Regions from separate parts of the Homo sapiens genome. Here region 1 is linked to region 2. Evidence: promoter capture Hi-C in human tissues and cell types (Jung and others, 2019). All regions are on one chromosome and are shown on one strand. Each heading gives the region's core, a stretch centred on a gene start or on the middle of the fragment in contact. The rest is flanking DNA. Distances are from core to core; before and after follow the strand shown. Region 1 overlaps SCAPER (S-phase cyclin A associated protein in the ER). Region 2 holds the start of SCAPER (S-phase cyclin A associated protein in the ER).

Region 1 (5,511 bases), core at 2,935-5,434, 340 kb after region 2:
TACATAGTTGTTTCCTCATTGCAACTGATACATAACTGAATATAGCTGGTATGACACCCATATTTTGTCAAAAGGTGACAAGTATATAGCCCAAAGTAAAATGAAGATGTTTTTCAGACGTTTTTCAGCTAGCTTCCCTTGGAAGACTACTATAAAGAAAAATTGAGTTGTTATTTCATGAATATGACAGATTTAACTTATAAATGGTTTGTATTTTTTAAAAAGAAACAACAAAAAGCAGGTGTTGAGAGAAGGAGAATTTACTGGAAAGGGGCATAAGGAAATTTCTAGGGTGATTAAAAAGTGTTGTGTATTTTGTTTTGGGTGGTGCTTAGATAGTTGTGAGCAGTAGTCAGACGTCATCAAACTGAGTGTATAAGCATTCCTTTTTCTCCACAACCTCACCAGCATCTGTTATTTTTTTGACATTTTAATCATAGCCATTCTGACTGTGTGAGATGATATCTTATTGTGGTTTTGATTTGCATTTCTCTAATGATCAGTGATGTGGAACTTTTTAAAAAATGATTGTTGTCTGCCTGTATGTCTTCTTTACAAAAGTGTCTGTTCTTGCCCTTTGCCCACTTTGTAATGGGGTTATTGGTTTTTATCTTGTAAATTTAAGTTCCTTATTAAAAAAAAGTTCCTTATAGATGCCAGGTATTAGGCCTTTGTCAGATGCATAGTTTGCAAAAGTTTTCTCCCATTCTGTAGGTTATCTGTTTACTCTCTTGATAGTTTCTTTTTCTGTGCAATAGCTCTTCAGTTTAATGAGATACCATTTGTTAGTTTTTGCTTTTGTTGCAATTGCTTTCGGTGTCTTCATCATAAGATCTTTGCCTGTGTCCTGAATGGTATTGCCTAGGTTGTCTTCCAGGGTTTTTAGTTTCGGATTTTACATTTAAGTCTTTGATCCATCTTGAGTTAATTTTTGTACATGGTATAAGGAATGGGTCCAGTTTAAATCTTCTGTATATGGCTAGCCAGGTATTGCATCACTATTCATTCAATAGGGAATCCTTTCCCCATTGCTTGTTTTTGTCAGGTTTGTCGAAGATCAGATAGTTGTAGGTGTGTGGCCTTATTTCTGGGCTCTCTATTCTGTTCCATTCGTCTATGTGTCTGTTTTCGTACCAGTACCATGCTGTTTTGGTTATCGTAGCCCTGTAATATAGTTTAAAGTTGGGTAGCATGATGCCTCCAGCTTTCTTCTTTTTATTTTGGATTGCCTTAGCTATTTTGGCTCTTTTCTGCTTCCATATGAATTTAAAAAAAATTTTTCTTTTTTTAGTTCTGTGAAGAATATCAATGATAGTTTAATGGGAATAGCATTGAATCTAATAAATTGCTTTGGGCAGTGTGGCCATTTTAACAATATTGAGTCTTCTTATCCATGAGCATGGAGTGTTTTTCCATTTGTTTTTATCATCTCTAATTTCTTTGAGCAGTGGTTTGTAGTTCTCCTTATAGAGATCTTTTACCTCCCTAGTTGACTGTATTCCTAGGTATTTTATTCTTTTTGTGGCAATATGGAATGGGAATTTGTTCCTCATTTGCCTCTTCGCTTGACTGTTGTTGGTGTGTAGGAATGCTAGTGATTTTTGCACATTGATTTTGTATCATGAGATTTTGCTGAAGCTGTTTATCAGCTTAAGCTTTTGGACTGAGACAATGGGGTTTTCTAGATATAGGATCGTGTCATCTGCAAACAAGGATAGTTTGACTTCCTCCGTTTCTATTTGGATGTCCTTTATTTTTTTCTCTTGCCTGATTGCCCTGGCCAGGACTTCCAATACTATGTTGAATAGGTGTGGTGAGAGAAGGCATCCTTGTCTTGTGCCGGCTTTCAAGGATAAAGTTTCCAGCTTTTGCCCAGTCAGTATGATGTTGGCTGTGGGTTTGTCGTAGATGGCTCTTATTATTTTGAGGTATGTTATTTTAATACCTACTTTATTGAGAGTTTTTAACATGAAGGGATGTTGAATTTTATCAAAAGCCTTCTCTGTCTCTATTGAGATAATCATGTGGGGGTTTTTTGTCTTTAATTCTGTTTATGTGAGGAGTCACATTTATTTATTTGCATATGTTGAACCAACCTTCCATTCCAGAGATGAGACCTACTTCATCATGGTGGATAAGCTTTTTGATGTGTTGCTGGATTTGGATTGCCAGTATTTTGTTGAGAATTTTGCATTGATGTTCTTCAAGGATATTGGCCTCAAGTTTTCTTTGTTGTATCTCTTCCAGGTTTTGGTATCAGGATAATGCTGACCTCATAGAATGAACTGGGGGGGAGTCCCTCCTCAATTTTTTGGAACAGTTTCAGTAGGAATAGTACTAGCTCTTCTTTGTATACCTGATAGACTTCAGCTGTGAATCCTTCTGATCCTGGGCTTTTTTTGGTTGATTGGCTATTTATTACTGCATCCATTTCAGAGCTCATTATGGATCTGTTCAGGAATTCAGTGTCTTCCTGGTTCAGTCTTGGGAGGGTGTATGTGTCCAGGAATTTATCCACTTCTAGATTTTCTAGTTTATGTGCATAGAGGTATTCATAATATTCTCCAATTGTTGCTTGTATTTCTGTGCGTTCAGTGGTATTTTCTATTATTATGTAAACTAACTATTTTTGGACTATTTAAAAATGTATCTTTGAAACCTCTTGCCTTATGTAATACAGTACACAGATACTTACTTGCACAAAATAATGAAAACTATGAAGGCAAAAACCTCAGTGACTACTAATTGAGAAATAGGACATTGTCAGCATCCCAGAACCCTTTTGTCCGCTCCTGTTTATTTTGCTAATTACACTCCTTTCTCTGCATTTTATGATAAACTATTAATTTGACTTTTAAGAAGCGACTTCCTTTTCTTTATGGTTTTATCACTTAAGGGTCTGTTTCTAAACACCACATGTTAGTTAAACATGTCTAGTTTTGAACTTCATGTAAATGGAATCCTACTGTCTGCATTTTGATGGCTTCCTTCTATCAAAATTATGTTTTCGAGAATTTATGTTATACAGTTTTATTTCCATTACTGTATAATGTGCCATTGTATGAATTTGTCACAGTGGTATTTATCCATTCCACTGTTGATGGACATTTGGATTATTTTTATGAAAAATGTGCCTGTAAGCATGTATCCTGGTATTTGTGCAAAAATTTCTCTAGCAAGCAGAGTTCCTGGGTCATAACATATGTCTCTCTTTATCTTTTCTTGATAATGCTAAATAGTTTTCCAAAGAAATTGTACCAATTTGCATTTCTACCAGCAGTATATAAAAGTCTTGTTGCTTCCTTTCTTTCCAGCGCTTGTTATTATCAGACATTTTGATTTTTGCTACTTTTGTAGGTAGACAGTGCTATCTTGCCAAGATTTTAATGTACATTTGTTTTTTGGCAGATAGGTTGAGGCACCTTTTCATATTTATTGGCCATTTGGGTTTCTTCTTTTGTGACATGCCTGTTCAAATCTTTTGCACGTTTTTCTACTGATTGTTAGAATATCCTGTGTGTTCTGGACACTAGTCCTAGGTTATTCAAATGTATTAAACATATCTACTCCTGTTATTGAGCTGTGTTTTTATTGTCTTTTGGTTCTTTTGATGAACAAAAGTTCTTAATATTAGTATGTCAGATTTATCAATATTGTCTTTTATAAAGGTTGTTTTTGCTCTTCTTTTAAAATATCCCATCCCAAAGTAAAGAAGATATTCTCCTATATTCTTGAGGTTTTACTTTTAGTCTCTTGTCCATTTGGTATTAATTTTTTTTTTTTTTTTTTTTTTGAGATGAAGTTTTGCTCTTGTTGCCCAGGCTGTAGTGCAATGGTGCAGTCTTAGCTCACTGCAACCTCTGCCTCCTAGGTTCAAGCGATTCTTCCGCCTCAGCCTCCAGAGTATCTGGGGGATTATAGGCACGTGCCACCACACCCAGCTAATTTTTTGTATTTTTGGTAGAGATGGGGATCACCATGTTGGCCAGGTGGGTTTCGAACTCCTGACCTCAGGTGATCCACCTGCCTTGGCCTCCCAAAGTGCTGGGATTACAGGCCTGAGCCACCCCGCACCTGGCCTCTGCCTCATATTAATTAAAAAAAAAAAAAAAAACTAATACTAGGAGGCAAAGGTTGCAGGGAAGCAAAGGTTTCAGTGAGCCGAGATTGAGCCATTACGCTCCAGCCTGGGCAAAAGGAGCGAAACTCCGTCTAAAAAAAAAAAGTGAGGTAGAGACTTCATTTTGTTTTTCTTGCCCGTATAGATGCATAATTTCTTGAGTGTCGTTTATTGAAAAGACCAGTTTTAATAACTGTATTCTACCTACATACTGTGATTAACCACCCTTCCCTAAAACAGTGCTAAGAAAAGTTACTCAAAGCTGGTAAAATAGCACACTTCCCTCAAGTATCGGTTTTATTAAAACATTTCAGGGAACAAAAACATTAAAAAAAAATTTTTATAATCCTAAGTTTTTGTCCATACCTGTGCAAAAGATACTAAAAATATCTCTTGAAGAAAGGTAGTATATAAAATACTTTATGGTAAAATAATTTTTAAAGGAAATTTCAACCAGGCATGTCAATTATTACAATAGGTAAGAAATATCATGAAAATGATATTTGAGAACCAGAAGTAGGACCATTAATTATTTAATCTTAATTTTAAGTAAATAAATTATAAGCTCTTTTGGCCCAACATGTGACATTGAGTGATGTTATTTCTCAGTAAGCAGATGTGCTTATTAAGGTTTCTGCTTATAGCAGCCTGATAGTATTCCATCATGCTAACTCTCTGGCTATATTCTACTCTAAGCTCACCTTAGTGATTGATTGCCTCACGCAGTGAGTAAATACTTACTGTTTTTAACCACATTTATGTAAGTCTGGGTTCTCGGAAATAATGACACTAAAAAAAAATGAGAGAAATTGCCCGTGTATGGATCCTGATGCTAGCTGTCTTCAGTTCAGCTCAGTTCTTTTAAATTAGTAGACTCCATGACAGATACCCTGTGTATTAACTAATGCAGGTAGAAAACTCATTTCTCCTTAATATAATACATTATTTTCTAGTTATGATAAACATGGGCCATATGGAAAAAATTGAGAAGTCTTGAAGGTATTTCTTTCTAGTGCTAGGTGTATATCCCCCAGCACTGCATCCCTGGGAATTCACTTTTCTTTGATACTACAAAGTCGTAAATGGATACTTGGAGAACTGTACTCTAGAATAAATTAAATCATTTAGCTTATTTTCTATTCCATTCCCAGGAACTATGAAGAAACAGGATTGTTGAAAGTGATGATGTGGGTTGGATTTGGATCATCATTGGGAAGGTATTTAGGGAAGCAGTTAAGAGCAGTGTTAAAAGCATGGACCTAGAACTTACTGTTTTGTTATTGTGTGACCCTGGACAAGTTAATTAATTTCTCTGGGTGTCAGTTTCCTTATCAGTAAAATATAAGGTTTTGGCACATCCCGAAGAATTGTGTGGCTATTAAATGAAATAT
Region 2 (5,543 bases), core at 1,222-3,721:
GAGAAATAAGAGAGACTTTAAAAGAGATGGAGAGGGAGTGGTTAGAGATGGAGAAGTGCTACCAAGAGAGTAAAAATGAAAGGCAAGGAAAAGTATTTCCAGAAGGAAGGAGGGTCATGAAGAGAAATTAAGTTAGGTAATGATGATAATGTCCATAAGATATATAGTAGGGAAATCCCTAGTGACTTTTTTTTTTTTTTTGAGACAGAGTCTCGCTCTGTCGCCAGGCTTGAGTGCAGTGGCATGATCTGTGCTCACTGCAACCTCCGTCTCCCTGGTTCAGCGATTCTCCTGCCTCAGACTCCTGAGTAGCTGGGATTACAGGCACATGCCACCACGCCCAGCTAATTTTTGTTATTTTTAGTAGAGATGGGGTTTCACCATGTTGGTCAGGATGGTCTCGATCTCGATCTCCTGACCTCGTGATCTGCCTGCCTCGGCCTCCCAAAGTGCTGGGATTACAGGCGGGAGCCACCAGCCCAGCCCAACTTTTTTTTTTTTTTTTTTTTTAATTGAGATGGAGTCTCGCACTGTCACCCAGGCTGGAGTGCAGTGGCATGATCTCAGCTCACTGCAAACCTCTGCTATCCAGGTTCAAGGGATTCTCGTGCCTCAGCCTCCCGAGTAGCTGGGACTATAGGTGTGCGCCACCGCACCCGGCTATTTTTTTTTTTTTTTTTTTTGTATTTTTGGTAAAGACAGGGTTTCGCCATTTTGGCCAGGGTGGTCTTGAACTCCTGACCTCAGGTGATCCACCTGCCTCAGCCTCCCAAAGTGCTGGGATTACAGGCGCGAGCCACGGCGGCTGGCCCCTAGTGATGTTGGAAAGAATGGTTTCAGTGGGGTGGTGGGGCAGAAACCAGAGTGCAGTAAGTCCAGACTTGAGTAGTGGTTGAGGAATTGGAGGCACTCTTGTTTAGATAATTGGAGAAATGTATTATAGGAAAGAAAGCAGAGGTTGAAGTGGAGTCTGGTAGGTTCGGCGGGAGATTTCAAGATGGGAGAGACTTCAGGTTGTTTACATGCTTATGAGTATGAAAGGAAGTGGGGATAATTAAGAAATGAGGCCCTGACCGCCTTTTATAGAATTGTAGTATGCTCCCTACTCTATCCCCCTTATCCTACTCATTTTGTTAACTGTAGTGCTTATCATGTTATATAATTTACTTATTTATTGTGTTTACTATTTCTTGTGTTAAAAGCAAAATATTAGCCAAATTAAACAGAGTTTGAGCAAAGAATTATTCCCGAATCAGGCAGCCTCCTGAGCCAGAGTAGGTTCATACAGACTCCCGCAGAGCCACATGGTGGAAAAAGGTTTATAGACAGAGAAAGAAAAGTGAGGTAGGGAAACAGCCAGAATGGTTATAGCTAGACGTTTACCTTATTTGAACACGGTTTGAACAGTTGGCCGTCTTTGGCCAAAACTTGGTGATTGGCGCAAGAGTAGGTTGCAGTGTATTTACACCTCCATTTAGGTTATAGTTTACTATTTACGGAGAAACCTTCAGGCTGAACTTAAAATATGTAAGGACACAGCTTTTGGCTAAACTTGATGTAACACTTGCCTGGTTTCACCCTGCTCCAAGAAGCCGGAGGTTTTTTAGAGATTTCTGTTTATTTTGCTCACGTATTAACTCCAAGCATCTAGAATACCATCTGATATATAGTATGTGGTCAATAAACATTTGCTGAATAAATGAAAAAGCGAGTTTTCTAAGAAGGCAAGAGAGAAGGGGAGCCAGAACATAGCCATATGGTTCCTGCCCCCACAACGCTTGTGAGTCCAGGACTTCCCGCCTACTGCGGGTGGGGAGGGAGAGGGAAGGGTAAAGAGCTGTTTCCCAGCTGGATGAAAAGGGACGGTGAATATTCGTTTGATAATTACAGTCTGCATTGAATCTTTTTTCTATTTTGTTCAGACTGATTTAAACGTTAAAGTATTTAATTCATCATATGTTTGTCTTTGAAGTAGATGAAACGTATTTGTTAGGTCTCTGTACTTCGACCTTCCAAGCCTGGCACACAGAAGGGCCCTGATAAAGCTTCTCGGAGGCCTAGTTGTGTTCAGCGCAGCCCAGCGTGCTCCTGTCAAGTGCTTTCGCCAGCACAGATTTCTGTGAGGCGCGTCTCTAAGTCCTTAATCTGTGGATTGACTGTGGTGATAAGGCAGGAGGAGGGAAGAGATTGAGTACGAGAAAGACCTGTGTGGCCAAAAGCGGCGGTGTAAGCTTAACCTAGGAAAAGAAACAGCTTCGGAAACGCCGCGCCGGGACATCGAACCAAATCAACCCTCACACCTCCCGCCTGGGCGCCCCAACGGCGCGAACGGGCGTGCGCCTGCGCGCGGACAACACAGATCTTGCAGCCGGGAGCGGCGCGGCAGCGGCTGAGATCACGTGGTGCGCCGGGAAGCCACCCCGCCTCTCCGAGGCCTCCCTGCCCCGCCCCGTCACGCCCCTTTCCCGGCGGGACGCTTTGAGCCGCCCCGAACTAAGCAGGGCGGTCGGGGGTGAGTGTCCGCGAGGGGCGTGCGTAGCGCAGACCCGGGCGGGTCCGGGTTGGGGCGCGGGCCGTCTGAATGCCTTGCGGGGACCAGGGGACAAAATGGCGGCGGGGTACGCCCTTTCACCCCCTCCCCTCACCTGGGAGTGCGAGTTGAGCGGGGCAGGGATCGTTGCTGGGGGAGGGGAGCCGCGGTCGCCTGGGGAGGGCTCGGAGGTCGGCCTCGGAGGCCTCGGGACGGGGGCTGGGGTGAGCCGCGTCCGGGCCCTGCCCTGCGGGCTCATCTGGGGTGTGAGGGACGTGAGACCCCGCACACTACGCGGTCTGAGGGGTGAGTGGGGGGCTGCCGCGTCACCTCACTTGGGGGCAGCCCCGGCCGCGGGTGACGAGGCTTCTGGAATGTCTAAATGCGAGGGGCCCCTGGAGGAGCCTCCCTTCGTTTGACAGGTGATCGTCTTCGTCATCTGTCATTCCCAGCGGGGTTTACCATGCTTTCCCTGTACTCTGATCTTAGCTCTGCCCAGGAAACGGGGCAGGAATGGCCTCTCCGTCTTCCAGATGCGTGCGCTGAGGCCTGGAGGGGCGAAGAGCCTCTCGCACCTGGGAGTAGTGGGACCCAGCCTCCTGCCTCTGTTGCTGCTCTTTTCCAAAACAGCACTTCCTTGGCGCCTTTCCTCTACACCGTTTTCCAGGCGCGTTCGTGGGAACGGCACCAGGGAGGAACGGGATTGTTAGAAAGCAGGCACAAAACTGGTCCTGTAAGCAACACCTGCTGCTGTTAAGGGGGCCCCAGCTGAGATGAGGCCGCCTGTTTGTGAGCAGCTTCCTGTTGCTGGTGGACTGCATCTCTTATTCTAGTTGTGACAAGTTATTTTCCATGAAAATAGCTATTCATTAATAGTCATTTTACCGAACAGATACTAATTCCTTATATGAATTATAGTTTGTCTTAGTTTATGGATTAATTTCATCATTAACTTTTCATCTTCATAAATAATCTGGTAGAAGGATGGATGGGCTAGGAGTAATACTTATTTTATGAATGGAGAAACGGGGGCTCAAAAGGTTATTACTTGCCTTAGATCACCAGCTGGTGAGTGGTAAATCTGGGGTTAAGTTTTCTGACCTAAGGTTGGTAGTCTGACCACTGTCCCACTCTGGCCTATACTGGTGCTCTTTCCCTTCTGTTATTTCTGTTAACTATGACTTTTCCTCAAAGTTTGTTGGTTGCAGATGATTTATGCCACTTGAAGAATGATATCCACTAAAGAATTAATATTTTTAATCAATCAAAGAGTCAAGTTTTAATGTGATTTGGAAGGTTGTCTGTGGGAGAAGTAATCTGATGGCTTTGAAGGCAGACTGTTTTGAGTTTGAATCTCAGCCCCAACCCTTGTTTTTGGCAAATTAATTTTTCTGAGCCTTTCTTATCTGTAAAGTAGGAATAATATCCACCTCATAATTTTGTTGATAGTAATAAATTAGGTGTCTGTAAAGTATTGAGAACTGTTCCTAGCCCATGGTAAGCCCTCAACAAATGCTCTTTTCCTTCTTTCTCCACACTCCCTTGAGCTGCATTAAAAATATACTCTATGTGTCTTTGGTCCATTTGGGTCTGGTATAGCAAAATACCTCAGACTGAGTGGCTTATAAACAACAGAAATTCATTTCTTGCAGTTTTGGAGGCTGGGAAGTCCTAGATCAAGATGTCTGATGATTCAGTGTTTGGTGATAGCCTGCTTTCTGGTTAATAGATGGCACCCTCTAGCTGTCTCCTTACATGGTGCAAGGGTGAAGGGGTCTCTCTCTGGCCTCTTATAAGGGAATTTATCCCATTCATTAAGGTTCTGCTTTCATAATACAGTCATCTCCCAAAGGCCCCACCTCCTGATATGACCTTGGAAACTAGGATTTCCACAAGAATTTTGAAGAACACAAACATGCAGACCATAGCATTATGGTTAATCACTTGGTTGTTCAGGTCAAATAACCATGGAAGTGTAATCAGCAGTACTGTACAAATGTGTTTATAAATAAATTTTGGTGACTGGTCCAAAGGATATAGTATTCTAAACAGACTTTAAAAATGTTTGCCATTGGTGCTTCATAGGTATTTTAAGAACTCCTAAAAGATTGATATTAAGGTCATTAATGTCTTCATTTAGCTGCAGGAATGTTTTAAAGATAAGTAAGATGAAGGGACTTGAGATTCTGTCATTTCTTTCACTTTCTTTTTTTTTTTTTTGAAACCGAGTCTCACTCTGTCACCCAGGCTGGAGTGCAGTGGCGCAATCTTGGCTCACTGCAAACTCCACCTCCCAAGTTCAAGCGATTTTCCTGCCTCAGCTTCCTGAGTAGCTGGAACTACAGGCACTCACCACCATGCCTGGCTAATTTTTTTTTGTATTTTTAGTAGAGACCGGGTTTCACCATGTTGGCCATGCTGGTCTCAAACTCCTGACCTCAGATGATCCACCCACCTCGGCCTCCCAAAGTGCTGGGATTACAGGCGTGCGCCACTGCACCTGGCCTCTTTCACTTTCATACCTGACCACAGCCCAGACTAGTTTTAAAGGATAAACAACTTCTTTGGGAATCACATGTGAATGTTATTTAAACACTTAGAAAGTGGGGGTATTATTTAGGGGGAAGTTTAATAGAATTCTCTGTAAGGGTACAATCTGATATCCATTGTGGAATTGGCATTTCTGAAATTGTAGAAGAGAAAACTGTAAATGGCTGGCATAGCAAAAATTAAATCATTAATAAAATTCTGTTTGCAGTTTCTGCTGGATGGTAACCTTTTTTTAAAAAAAAATTCAACTTATATAGTAGAGGGTACATGTGTAGATTTGTTACATGGGTAAATTGATGCCGATGCTTGGGGTCCCAATTATCCCATCACACAGGCCATAAGCATAGTACACAACAGGTGGTCTTTCAGCCCATGCTCCCCTTGGCCTAGTGATCCCTAGTGCCTGTTGTTTGTGACTTTTACAATCACATATTCTGTGTTTAATTCCCACTTATAAGAGAGA

The links. Contacts are between HindIII fragments. The study calls those that stand out against the background at their distance.
Region 1: a fragment that was not itself captured here is called in contact with the fragment with the promoter of SCAPER in region 2 in 1 of the 25 tissues and cell types used here (H1 embryonic stem cells).

What each region holds. Positions count from the first base shown.
Region 1 is chr15:76,560,431-76,565,941 of GRCh38, reverse strand. All of the region lies in intron 23 of SCAPER (S-phase cyclin A associated protein in the ER), which reads left to right. Among named protein-coding and RNA genes, the nearest start is that of MIR3713, 23 kb to the left of the region's middle. The HindIII fragment of the contact is 4,573 bases long and covers 1,898-5,511 here.
Region 2 is chr15:76,902,268-76,907,810 of GRCh38, reverse strand. It overlaps SCAPER (S-phase cyclin A associated protein in the ER), which reads left to right and starts at 2,471. Exons shown (of 32, transcript NM_020843.4): 1 at 2,471-2,512. RefSeq lists an enhancer at 2,125-2,625 and silencers at 2,366-2,675, 2,686-2,795, 2,816-2,895. The HindIII fragment of the contact is 13,869 bases long and covers 1-5,543 here.